Regions from separate parts of the Homo sapiens genome. Here region 2 is linked to region 1. Evidence: promoter capture Hi-C in human tissues and cell types (Jung and others, 2019). All regions are on one chromosome and are shown on one strand. The core of a region is centred on a gene start or on the middle of the fragment in contact, and the rest is flanking DNA. Distances in the headings are between cores, read along the strand shown.

Region 1 (7,024 bases), core at 2,394-4,893:
GACAAGAACGAAACTCCATCTCAAAAAACAAACTAACAAACAAAAAGACAACATAAAGCTAAAGATTTGTCTTCTTAAATGTGTAAATATTAACAATTAAATTCAAGAATAGAATGTGGGCAGGGCGCAGTGGGTCACGCCTGTAATCCCAGCACAGGAGGCCGAGGCGGGTTGATCATGAGGTCAGGAGTTTGAGACCAGCCTAGCCAACATAGCAAAACCCCATCTCTACTAGAAATTCAAAATTTAGCTGGGCGGGGTGGCATGCGCCTGTAGTCCCAACTACTCCGGAGGCTGAGGCAGGAGAATCACTTGAACCCGAGAGGCTGAGGTTGCAGTGAGCCGAGGTAGCGCCACTGAAATCCAGCCTGGGTGACAGAGCAAAAATCCATCTCAGAAACAAACAAAAAAAAAGAATAGAATGTGTAGAAGGATGTACATCCAAAACAGACTCAACCTGCACTCTGCAAAATATCCAGCAATATCTTAATTTATATCAAAACAAACTTATCTTCCCTTATATGTTCTTTTCTATTATTCCAGGAGACTTGCATCTTATACCTTATATTTTTCTTATCCACAATGTACTAATCCTGCTTATCCTTTAACATCAAGATCAAGCAAGTCTTACCCACCCCCGAAGCATTCTCAAACAAAATCCAGTATGAAATGTTATTGTCATGTTCTGAACTCCTGTAGTACTCATTAGACATGTAATCTCTTATTGTTACGGGTTGTTAACTCTACGCTCAAGCATGAGCATCAGATTCCTCCCACATGGCAAGTAAGTTCCTGAAAGACAGGGAACAAGGAATCTCCCGTTCCTCCCCAATGCCTAGACAGTAGTACTTTGCAAACGTTAGGCCCTTTATTATGAGCATTATGATGAGTAATAAAATGCAATAAAGGGTTGAATAACTATTACTGTAAAAATATAACAAATTTTTCATTTTCTACTTTGTTTTATCTAAATTAACATTCTATGGTATAAATAATGTATCTTTAAAATAATAAACAGTTGCTGATTCTCTTAACTGTCAAAAAACAAAATACTCATAAATAGGACTTTTAATGATTGCAATAATACAGTTCATCAATTACATTTTTTAATTCCCTATTATATCTATGTTCAAATAGTTTGGGATAGTTGAGGTAATAACCCTCCGAATGGGGTTCTCCATCTGAGTTCTAACCTAATATTTAAAGCTGCACATGCTTCCGTGTTGAAAATGTATTTCAAAGTAATATAAATCTAACAAAATCAAAATATCAAATCCTTAACTCTGCTTTGTTTTTCAAAGAACAGGACTGTTTAGGAAAGCAATAAAACAATACAAACAACAGTTGGTTTGTTTTGATCAAAATAACTAATTAATTTAAATGAAGACAAATCACTCTGACAATAGGTTGACCAACTTCTCTTTTTTCTCTGTGAAACTATTGAAAGTGTGGTTACAACATGGAATTTCAATATTTGAAAAACATTGTCTTGGCAGGCTTTTAGAGACATTTCAGTTTGCAATATTAAGGATACTGTCCTACTACTAAACCCAGTCACAGTTCTATAAAAGTACAGGTTGCTACTTTTAAGAGAAAACATTCATTTTATAAGCACCGTGACAGGCACTGTCCCAAGGCATCTTTAAGTTTCAAGTTACGTATCTGGAACATGTACCTGTTATAAAGCAAACAGAAAGAGAAACCAAGACAAATTATATTATAGCCTAGATTACCAGTATTTTAGGTCTTCCCTTAATAACCAGTTTTGAAGGAACCAGTGATAACTGACCCCCACCTAGGTGTCCTCTTATCCGTTTTCCCTAAGGCTGTTAATAAAACCAGCTTTACTTTAAACGTGTACACATTATTTTTAATAGTCCTTGAGGGGCAGAGAAGGGAGGATGTGTGTTACATTTCAATAGGAAGGTATTCAACTGTAAAGATTTCAGAAATGAAAGCTGTTGAAACCAAGTAGGTATTTTCTGACTTGTAAGTCCTACTGACTGCCTGAAAAGGTAAGAGGGGTGGAGAAGAGGACATAAAAACATTAAAGGGCAAAGAATCTGTAACTTCTAAGAAGTATTTTTTTCTACCTGTAAAAATATGAGTTTTTTTTTTACTTCATTTCATATTCCATGTCCCACGAGAGGAAGGGGAAGCATAATTGCTTCTAATTCTGAGGCAGGGAGAGGAGAGAGAGAGAGAGAGAAAGAGAGCAGTTCAGGATACACTAAAAGGAAACCCCAAGAAATTTCACAACTCTTTGCCATAAATAGCCTTTCTTCTCACTCTGGATACCTCCTCCTTTACATCAGCAAGGCTCAGCCTCCACGCACGCAGAAGCACCATTCACAAATCCCTCCGTCACCCTTACCCCTTGCTGGCACCGTGTGTACGAGTCCCTGGGACACAAGCCAAAAGTCGAAGGGGCCAGGGGGCCACATGCGGTTTCAGCTTACGGCTGACTTTCTGCTCAGGTGAACCAACCCACTGGTTAGTCCAGAGCGCGCGCGCGCGCGCACACACACACACACACACACACGCACACAACCTGGGGCCCTTGACGCTCCACCACAAAGCAAGTGGTTCAATCTAAGTCGCTGCCGTTACTGCTGCCTCTGGGCAGGGTCTTGCTTCCAATCCAGGAAACTGGCGCCAGAGGACAAGCAGGCGGAGGCAAGAGGTGGTCCCGGCCCCGCACTGCGGTTCCTCCGGGAGCCCCTGGCTCCCCGCCCCCTCCTCCCCTTCCCCCTCTTCGCCGCCGTCCCCGCCTCAGCACCCGCAGCCCGGGGCGCCAGCGCTGACCGGTCGCCTCTACCTGCGGGACGCGAGTGGCGAGGAAGGGGAGCGACCCGAAGCCTGCGCCAACTCTCGCCGCCTTGGCCAGCGCTCCGCATCGCCCTGGAGCGGCCGCCGCGGCCGCAGGCAGCAAACCACGCAGCAGCGTGGAGGAAATGGCCACGCGGCGCACTGGGAGTCGCGGGCCGGTGGTGAGCGAGCCCGCCCGCCTCCTTCCCACCCCGCCCGCAAGGCCAGGTCTCTGCGCCGAGCACGCCGGGCCTGGGCGCGCGCTGCTCGCAGGCGGCCCCGACACGGCGCGGTCACCTGCCGAGCGGTCATCCCCGCGTCCGCCTGCGGCCGGCCCCGCAAAGCGGCGACGCGACGCGCGACCCGCTGAGCGCTGAGGCACCAGGGGCGTTACTACCTTGAGGGCTCCGTGCGCTTGTTAAGGCTCCTCCCGGGCACTCAGGGATTTATGTCTTCGGGGCACGGGGGTGTCCTTCCTGGTCCCCCTCCTCTGCCCTCCCTCCCCTTCTCGGCTGTTGGGCTCCTCTCCACTCCCAGTTGCACAGAGTCCAGCTGCGTTATTTAATAATCCTCCTGCTCCTCCTGCCTGCGCCAGCGGAGCTGCTCTGCCCGAGCCACCGCTTCCCAGTCAGTCATGTTGAGACAGAGAGAGAGAGAGAGGAGAGGCGGATTGGCAGTAGGTCGGCGACTATTTGTGGTGAGGGAGAGAAGAGCAGAGCAAGAGGAGGGCAGGGGAGGGACGTGGGGAGGCGCTTCCAAGTGTGTGAGTGCGCGGAGTGTGACTGTGTGGGGAGCGCGAGATCCACCTCCCCGGCAGGCCGCGCTCCGGGGCTGTGAGGAGGGCGGGCCCAAGCGCGGCCTTTATACAAGGAGGAGTGTGGTGGGCTGGGCGGGGCGGCTTGGAGGGCGGTGCCCGGCCCACTGCGTCCGCCGGATTCCACGCACGCATCCTCTGGCATCGACGCGCGCACACCCACTGCTGGCCCGCTGCTGAGTTTTCATTTTAGGGGAAGCAGTATCCCACCGTGCTGACCTGGCCTTTTCCCCCAGTCCATCCTAGTGCTTATGTGGAGTTCAAGTGCATAGGCAGGTCAAGACTAAAGAATAGGGGAAGTCTGAAGAGACGTGAAGTGACTGCGGGGATGCTGGAAATAAATGCACTGTATTTCTCCTCTCCAAGGTTCCGATGTTATCTTTTTTCTCTTCCTCCTGTAAGGGAAGGAATTACCAGATTCTTTCGCCGCTTTTCCTTCTCACCCACACAATTCACATCCTGACAAGTGTCTTCATTCCTCAGTAACAAGAAAAGAAACCTAGCTTCTTTCCTTTAAGCAGGTCACACCTCCCAGGAACCATTTGCAGCAATCAATTCTGTAAGATAATGCAAGCACTGCGACTGTGTCCGAGAGTGGAACTTGTGTTCCTACAAGGAAGGCCCTACACAATACAGGCATTACAAGAGAATCAGCTCAATTTGACATCATTTGACTGATGGTCCCCTGGAGAAAATTTGCCAGTTTAGAAATCGAAAAGACTTTTGATGCATGGTTCTGTTGCCTACATAATTTATTTTCCCCTGATCCTCTCTCCCCTTGCACTGCCTCATTTCCTTTCAGGTTTACACTAAGTACTGAACTCTTTCCCATCCATCCCCTTCTTTATCTCCACTCCAGTATATTTATGCCTTTAGCAGGCAATACAGCAAATGTAGTGCATTTAATTCTGTGTGTGTGTGTGTGTGTGTGTGCGCGCGCGCATCTGTTTTTAACCCATTCTGGTAGAATGTAGGACCATTTCTAGGTAGAAAATGCATCCCCAATATTAAGTTTGTACGCCTAACATCACCTCCCTTACCTTCTGCCCAGATTACAAGATGTTGTGATCAGGTGCACTGAGGTATTGAGAAAAACTTCCAGAAATCAAGTGATCTACAGTTTTTTCAAGGTGTGTTTGTGTGTGCGCGTGCGCGTGCGCACGCTCTGTGTAATCTAACTGGCTATGATCTAACTTCTGAAATGTGGTTATATTGGGAATAAAAGCAAGATGTATTTTTTAAATGAATCTGAGTGGTCAATGTATATTACAGCATGGGGACAACTCTGCTTTTGGGAGACAATTATAGGAAACATTTTTCATAAATTAGACAAAAGGAAGATAAGATTTAGGAGGCTACGGAGGAGGCGGCAAGGTTGACAATTCAGTTGTCCTATCTTCTTCCATGGCTTGTGACCATCGTACATCTTTAGGGTTTTGTCATATGCTGGCACCTTATATATTCTCCACATATTTTACCCTTTCACATTGATGTTCCTGTCTCGTAATTCTTCAATCTCTCATACAGAGTTTAGCAAACATTAAAAATGATTTAAGCATGTGATCAAGACCTAACAAAGAAGTGATATTAAGGAGTGTGATAAAAACAAAGTGATATTGGAAAGGACAGCAAGTTGGGACAGGTGCGTGAATATATCAATAATATAAGTATATAGGCCATTAAAGCTTCTTTGATTAAGCACTGGAAAAATGAATGGACTAACAAAGCATATTGGGATTGATAGTGTGCCCTATGGGACAGCTATTATTATTTCCTCAATTTTACAGACCAAGAAAGTTAAATTTTGAAAGTGTGTGTAGATAACCTAAGATCATACAAAGAATAAATAATGTCAATGGAACTCAATCTGTCTTATTCTACTGTCCATATCATGTCCCATTCAGAAGGCCTGGCTTACTTAAAAATCTCAGGACTTTCCTTAGAGCTTTTGTTTATGAAATAAGCTGACCTACAATCCTTTGGCATTTTTCTTCTACCTCCCTCCTTCTTTTTACAATGCAAGAGCGATTTATGAAATGTTAATGTTTTTTAGGGCTGGTCAACAATTTAAAAAGTCTTAACATACTTGAACTCATAAATGGAAAAAGAAAACTTTCCTACACAGTCCTTTCTGAAAGAAACCTGGTGTCATTGTAAAACGAAATTTTGTAGAGGAGATATTACTGAACATTTGCATCTAGTGAATACATAGGTGGTTTGAGAGCCGTAAACAGACATTTTAAAAGGTTATGTCCTCCTAAAGGGATGATACTCAATCATATTCAGCAAGTTTGTGGTGTTTTCAGTGTCCTGGTTCTCTATTTAATTGTCATTAATAACAATAATTTGATTATGACTGTATATTGCATACTTCAAAATTATATATTAGACCAGATATTTCAAGGGCATTTTTGGTAACCACAAATGATAGTAATTTTTACACTCTCAGTTCCATTCATAATTACTGAGAACCATGAAAAGCTGTCAATTGCCTTTATTCATTACGGTATTACAGGAAGCCAACATTTCTTGCTTAATTTTCTGACAATTTTTCTTTCCAAATAAAGGCTAGAATTTATATGCACTAGACCAGAAAGACATGTGAAACATATAACTTAAAACATACTCCTGAAAAGTTTATTCATTTTAATGATTTTGTATTTTTGTTGAAAAAAATCTGCACTAGAAACCCCATTTATAAATTATAATGAACCACATTTTAGAAGTTAAGTAAATGAATTATTCTCTTTTAAGATTGTTTAATGTTTCAAGTAGAATTCCCCACTTTGCAACACTTTCAATGATACAATTTTTGTTGTGATAGGAAAACAGAAAAAGTTAATGACTCTTTCCAATTTGTTCATTTTAATCTCATGTATGCTTGCTGCTGTTTGGTTCCCAAGTGCATTTAACTGGCAAGTTCAATGAAGATTTGGCATTGCACCATTTGATGAAAGCAGAAAAATTAGGTTGCCAATTACATATGTGCCCCTTATGTGCACTGAATTCCCACTGAAGTGATGAGCCAAATTAGAAATTCCTCAGTAGTCATACCTAAAAAGTAAAATTATAGCCCAGGGAAGGAAAGGGAGATTTTTTTCCCCAACCCTATTACTAGTCTAAGACATTTTAGAAAGAGAATTAACTTTAATACATTTGTAAAACAATGTTTGTAGGTGGAGTGTCATTAAACATTTTTAAATTGCATTTCTTTTGTTCTTTCCAAGCTATTTTATGTTTCTTTGATTTACTTTATACTCTATCGTGATTAGCCAATCATTATGAAAAAATATATGAAGACCATTTCCCCTAGTTGTTTTAGCCTAATGGAATACAAAAATTCAAGAAAATATTACGCATATGTTATTAGCATTCTGGATTTCTTTCATATTACTAAGAAGT
Region 2 (7,024 bases), core at 2,085-4,584, 160 kb after region 1:
GATGCTTGACCCCAATACAAACTGGACAGTAGTTCCAAATAGCCGGAAAACGGCACTTTCAATTTCTCCATCCCACAAGATCTAAATAATTCTTGTCGTAAAATGGGCAAATGGTCTGAGGTGCCTGACATCCAGGCATTCTTTTACACATCGGTCCCTTCCTAGTCTCTGTGCCCAATGCAACTCGTCCCAAATCTTCCTTCTTTCCCTTCCGCCTGTCCCCTCAGTCCCAACCCCAAGAGTCACTGAGTCTTTCTAATCTTCCTTTTCTACAGACCCATCTGACCTCTCCCCTCCTCCCCAGGCTGCTCCTCGCCAGACCGAGCTAGGTCCCAATTCTTCCTCAGCCTCCGCTCCTCCACCCTATAATCCTTTTATCGCCTCCCCTCCTCACACCTGGTCCGGCTTACAGTTTCCTTCCATGACTAGCCCTCCCCCTCCTGCCCAGCAATTTACTCTTAAAAAGGTGGCTGGAGCTAAAGGCATAGTCAAGGTTAATGCTCCTTTTTCCTTATCCCAAATCAGATAGCGTTTAGGTTCTTTTTCATCAAATATAAAAATCCAGCCCAGTTCATGACTTGTTTGGCAGCAACCCTGAGACACTTTACAGCCCTAGACCCTAAAAGGTCAAAAGGCCGTCTTATTCTCAAAATACATTTTATTACCCAATCTGCTCCCAACATTAAATAAAACTCCAAAAATTAAATTCTGGCCCTCAAACCCCACAACAGGATTTAATTAACCTCACCTTCAAGGTGTACAATAATAGAAAAAAGTTGCAGTTCCTTGCCTCCACTGTGAGACAAACCCCAGCCACATCTCCAGCACACAAGAACTTCCAAACGCCTGAACTGCAGCAGCCAGGTGTTCCTCCAGAACCTCCTCCCCGAGGAGCTTGCTACAAGTTCCAGAAATCTGGCCACCGGGCCAAGGAATGCCTGCAGCCCAGGATTCCTCCTAAGCCACATCCCATCTGTGTGGGACCCCACTGGAAATCGGACTGTCCAACTCACCTGGCAGCCACTCCCAGAGCCCCTGGAACTCTGGCCCAAGGCTCTCTGACTCCTTCCCAGATCTTCTTGGCTTAGCAGCTGAAGACTGACGCTGCCCGATCACCTCAGAAGCCCCCTAGACCATCACGGACACCGAGCTTCAGGTAACTCTCACAGTGGAAGGTAAGTCGGTCCCCTTCTTAATCAATACGGAGGCTACCCACTCCACATTACCTTATTTTCAAGGGTCTGTTTCCCTCACCTCCATAACTGTTGTGGGTATTGACAGCCAGGCTTCTACACCTCTTAAAACTCCCCAACTCTGGTGCCAACTTAGACAATACTCTTTTAAGCACTCCTTTTAGTTATCCCCACCTGCCCAGTTCCCTTATTAGGCCGAGACACTTTAACTAAATTATCTGCTTCCCTGACTATTCCTGGATTACAACTACATCTCATTGCTGCCCTTCTTCCCAATCCAAAGCCTCCTTTGCGTCCTCCTCTTGTATCCCCCCACCTTAACCCACAAGTATAAGATACCTCTACTCCCTCCTTGGTGACTGATCATGCACCCCTTACCATCTCATTAAAACCTAATCACCCTTACCCGGATCAATGCCAATATCCTATCCCACAGCATGCTTTGAAAGGATTAAAGCCTGTTATCACTCGCCTGCTACAGCATGGCCTTTCAAAGCCTATAAACTCTCCTTACCATTCCCCCATTTTACCTGTCCTAAAACCAGACAAGCCTTACAAGTTAGTTCAGGATCTATGCCTTATCAACCAAATTGTTTTGCCTATCCACCCCATGGTGCCAAACCCATATACTCTCCTATCCTCAATACCTCCCTCCACAATCCATTATTCTGTTCTGGATCTCAAACGCGCTTTCTTTACTATTCCTTTGCACCCGTCATCCCAGCCTCTCTTCGCTTTCACTTGGACTGACCCTGACACCCATTAGGCTCAGCAAATTACCTGGGCTGTACTGCCACAAGGCTTCACAGACAGCCCCCATTACTTCAGTCAAGCCCAAATTTCATCCTCATCTGTTACCTATCTCGGCATAATTCTCATAAAAACACACGTGCTTTCCCTGCTGATCGTGTCCGATTAATCTCCCAAACCTCAATCCCTTACAAAACAACAACTCCTTTCCTTCCTAGGCATGGACAACAACTCCTTTCCTTCCTAGGCATGGTTAGTGCAGTCAGATTTCTTACACAAGAGCCAGGACAGGACCGCACCTTGTAGCCTTTCTGTCCAAACAACTTGACCTTACTGTTTTAGCCTAGCCATCATGTCTCCGTGCAGTGGCTGCTGCCACCCTAATACTTTTAGAGGCCCTCAAAATCACAAACTCTGCTCAACTTAGTCTCTTACATTTCTCATAACTTCCAAAATCTATTTTCTTCCTCATACCTGACGCATACACTTTCTGCTCTCCGGCTCCTTCAGCTGTACTCACTCTTTGTTAAGTCCCACAATTACCATTGTTCCTGGCCCGGACTTCAATCTGGCCTCCCACATTATTCCTGATACCACACCTGACCCCCATGACTGTATCTTTCTGATCCACCTGACATTCACCCCATTTCCGCATATTTCCTTCTTTCCTATTCCTCACCCTGATCACGCTTGATTTATTGATGGCAGTTCTACCAGGCCTAATCACCACACACCAGCAAAGGCAGGCTATGCTATATAGTACAAGCCACTAACCCGCATCTTAGAACCTCTCATTTCCTTTCCATCATGGAAATCTATCCTCAGGGAGATCACTTCTCAGTGTTTCATCTGCTATTCTACTACTCCTCAGGGATTATTCAGGCCCCCTCCCTTCCCTACACATCAAGCTCAAGGATTTGCCCCCACCCAGGACTGGCAAATTAGCTTTACTCAACATGCCCCGAGTCAGATAACTAAAATACCTCTTAGTCTAGGTAGACACTTTCACTGGATAGGTACAGGCCTTTCCTACAGGGTCTGAGAAGGCTGCCACAGTCATTTCTTCCCTTCTGTCAACATAATTCCTCAGTTTAGCCTTCCCACCTCTATACAGTCTGATAAAAGACCAGCCTTTATTAGTCAAATCAGCCAAGCAGTTTTTCAGGCTCTTAGTATTCAGTGAAACCTTTATATCCCTTAAGGTCCTCCGTCTTCAGGAAGAGTAGAATGGACTAAAGGTCTTTTAAAAACACACCTCACTAAGCTCAGCCACCAATTTAAAAAGGACTGGACAATACTTTTATGACTTTCTCTTCTCAGAAGTCAGACCTGTCCTCAGAATGCTACAAGTTACAGCCCATTTGAGCTCCTGTATAGACGCTCCGTTTTATTAGGCCCCAGTCTCATTCCAGACACCAGACCAACTTAGAATGTGCCCCCAAAAACTTGTCATCCCTACTATCTTCTGTCTAGTCATACTCCTATTCAGCGTTCTCAACTACTCATACATGCCCTGCTCTTGTTTACACTGCCGGTTTACACTGTTTCTCCAAGCCATCACAGCTGATATCTCCTGGTGCTATCCCCAAACTGCCACTCTTAACTCTTGACGTAAATAAATAATCTTTGTTGGCAGGACTATGCCGAATCTCCTTAGGCACTCTCTAATCAGATGTCCTGAGTCTTCCCAATTCTTAGACCTTTTATACCTGTTTTTCTCCTTCTCTTATTCCATTTAGTTTTTCAATTCATACAAAACTGTATCCATGCCATCACCAATAATTCTAAATTACAAATGTTCCTTCTAACAACCCCACAAATATCACTCCTTACCACAAAATCTTCCTTCAGCTTAATCTCTCCCACTCTAGGTTCCCACACCGCCCCTAATCCCGCTCGAAGCAGCCCTGAGAAACATCGCCCATTATCTCTCCATACCATCCCCCAAAATTTTCGCTGTCCCAACACTTTACCACTATTTCATTTTATTTTTCTTATTAATATAAGAAGACAGGAATGTCAGGCCTCTGAGCCCAAGCTAAGCTATCATATACCCTGTGACCTGCACGTACACATCCAGATCGCTTGTTCCTGCCTTAACTGATGACATTCCGCCACAGAAGAAGTGAAAATGGCCTGTTCCTGCCTTAACTGGTGACATTGTCTTGTGAAATTCCTTCTCCTGGCTCATCCTGGCTCAAAAGCTCCCCTACTGAGTACCTTGTGACCCCCACTCCTGCCTGCCAGAGAACAACCCCCCTTTTTCCTTTACCTACCCAAATCCTATAAAACGGCCCCACCCCTCTCTCCCTTCGCTGACTCTCTTTTTGGACTCAGCCCCCCTGCACCCAGGTGAAATAAACAGCCATGTTGCTCACACAAAGCCTGTTTGGTGGTCTCTTCACACGGACGCGCATGAAAGATACCACTGAAAGAAAATTTATGAAAATGGTAAGTTTTTTTTCTCTCGTTAGGCAAATTACTAGTTTCAAGAGTTAAGAGGGAAATAAATGAGAACACATACTCACGAATAATTTTTTAAATGGAGGCATAATCCCAGTCCTTTTTCTTCCCATTTTGTGACACTAGTATTGAAACCGCCTTTGCAAAATTATGACTCAAACAGTGAAACAGATCCAATTTAACTGACTCCATCTTTCTTCTAACCTCCAAGCTGTCCTTGTTCATTCCTGACCGTAGGCTGAACTAACTTTGGGAGAAACTTAGTTTGTAGTTTATAGTTTAAACAAAGACAGCCTTTCCCAAAGCAGACTTCCTTCTTGCATGGGGACTAGACTAACATTAGCCACGGGATTAGAAATTATGGTTTAGGAGTCATGTAGCTCCTAAGATCAGTGCTTGAGATATGTTGCAGACCCTGCACTTGATGGATCAGCTAGCCCCACCCAGATCAATAAACTGGCTTGTCTGATCTTGTGGCCCCCACCCAGGAACCGACTCAGCACCAGAAGACAGCTTCCACTCCCTGTGATTTCAGCCCTGACCAATCAGCATTCCTGACTCACTGGCTCCCCACCAACCTACCAAGTTATTGTTAAAAGCTCTGCTCCTGGCCAGGCGCAGTGGCTCACACCTGTAATCCCAGCACTTTGGGAGGGCAAGGCGAGTAGATCATAAGGTCAAGAGATCGAGACCATCCTTCCTGGCCAACATGGTGAAACCGTCTCTACTAAAAATACAAAAATTAGCTGGGTGTGGTGGCAGCGCCTGTAGTTCCAGCTACTCAGGAGGCTGAGGCAGGAGAATTGCTTGAACCCAGGAGGCGGAGGTTGCAGTGAGCCGAGATTGTGCCACTGCATTCCAGCCTGGCAACAGAGAGAGATTCCGTCTCAAAACAAAAACAAAACAAAAACTCTGCTCCCTGAATGCTCAGGGAGACTGATTTGAGTAATAATAAACTCCGGTCTCCTGCACAGCTGGCTCTGTGTGAATTACTCTTTCTCTACTGCAATTCCCCTGTCTTGATGAATTGGCTCTGTCTAGGCAGTGGGCAAGGTGAACCCCTTGGGCAGCTACAGTATTAAGTTACTCACAGAATGACAATTTTTTTTTCTTCGATTTTAAGTTCAGGGATATATGTGCAGGATGTGCAGGTTTGTTACATAGGTAAACGTGTGCTATGGTGGTTTGCTGCACAGATCATCCCATCACCTAGGTATTAAGCCCAGCACCCATTAGCTATTCTTCCTGATGCTCTCCTGCCCACCTCCCCCACCTCTAATGACAGGCTGCAGTGTTTGTTATTCCCGTCTATGTGTCCATGTGTTCTCACTGTTCAACTCCCACTTGTAAGTAAGAACATGCAGGGTTTGGTTTGCTGTTTCCTTGTCAGTTTGTTGAGGATGATGGCCTCCAGCTCCATCCATGTCCCTCCAAAGGACATGATCTTGTTCCTTTTTATGGCTGCATAGTATTCCATGGTGTTTATGTACCACATTTTCTTTATCCAGTCTCTCATTGATGGCCATTTTGAGTTGATTCCATGTCATTGCTACTGTGAATAATAGTGCTGCAATGAGCATACATTTGCATGTATCTTTATAATAGAATGATTTATATTCATTTGGGCATATACCCAGTAATGGGATTGCTGGGTCAAATGGTATTTCTGCCTCTAGGTCTTTGAGGAGTCACCACACTGTCTTCCACAATACCTGAACTAATTTACACGCCCACCAACAGTGTAAAAGTGTTCCATTTTCTCTGCAACCTCGCCAGCATCTGTTGCAGAAAGGCAATTTCACAAAGTCCAAAGGATGGACTTAAGATGTGTTCAAAAGTATGTCTCAAAATGTGTTGAAGATAAATTTGCAAGTTTTCAAAATGGCAACTGGAGTGAGTAGAGACAGTAATGGTTTCCTATTATAGATTTCCTCTGCTAGTTTTTCACATCATCTAGGTTAGAGGGAGGTTGAAGAAATGGTAACAGGATCTTACATCTCTTTGGCTTTCACTCTGCCACACTATCTCACACTGTGTCTGTCCACCCTCTATCTCTTAACACGGACCAGTTTACCAGTTTGGATATACAGTTGACCCTTGAACAACATAGGTTTGTATTGTGTGGGTCCAATCATACACAGGTTTTCTTTTCAACATTTTTTAAAATTAAAATAGAGACAAGGTTTCACCATGTTGACCAGGCTGATCTCAAACTCCTGTGCTCAAGCAATCCAGCCCCCTTGACCTTCTAAATTGCAGGTATTACAGGCGTGAGCAACCGGGCCTGGCCTATACACAGGTTTTCTTAAGCCTCTCTCACCCCCCACCCTGGAGAGAGCAAGACCAACCCTTTCTCTTCCTTTTCCTCCTCAGCTTACTGGACATAAAGATGAGGATGAAGACCTTTGTGATGATCCACTTTCACTTAATGAATAATACATATATTTCCTCTTATGAATTTCTTAATAACCTTTTCTCTAGCTTACTTTATTGTAAAAATGCAGTATATAATACATATAACATATAAAATATGAGCTAATTGACTAGTTGATGTTATCAATAAGGCTTCTGTCAATAGTAGACTATTCGTAGTTAAGTTTTTGGGGAGTTAAAATTTT

What was found. The method cuts DNA at HindIII sites, captures the fragments that hold promoters and counts their contacts. A contact is called where the count stands out against the background at its distance.
Region 2: a fragment that was not itself captured here is called in contact with the fragment with the promoter of CCSER1 in region 1 in 2 of the 25 tissues and cell types used here (adrenal gland and small bowel).

The regions. Positions count from the first base shown.
Region 1 is chr4:90,124,013-90,131,036 of GRCh38, reverse strand. CCSER1 (coiled-coil serine rich protein 1) reads right to left here and starts at 3,643. Exons shown (of 11, transcript NM_001145065.2): 1 at 3,206-3,643. RefSeq lists silencers at 2,526-2,775, 2,886-3,085. The HindIII fragment of the contact is 9,294 bases long and covers 1-7,024 here.
Region 2 is chr4:89,962,131-89,969,154 of GRCh38, reverse strand. No RefSeq gene overlaps it. Among named protein-coding and RNA genes, the nearest start is that of MMRN1, 71 kb to the right of the region's middle. The HindIII fragment of the contact is 9,139 bases long and covers 1-7,024 here.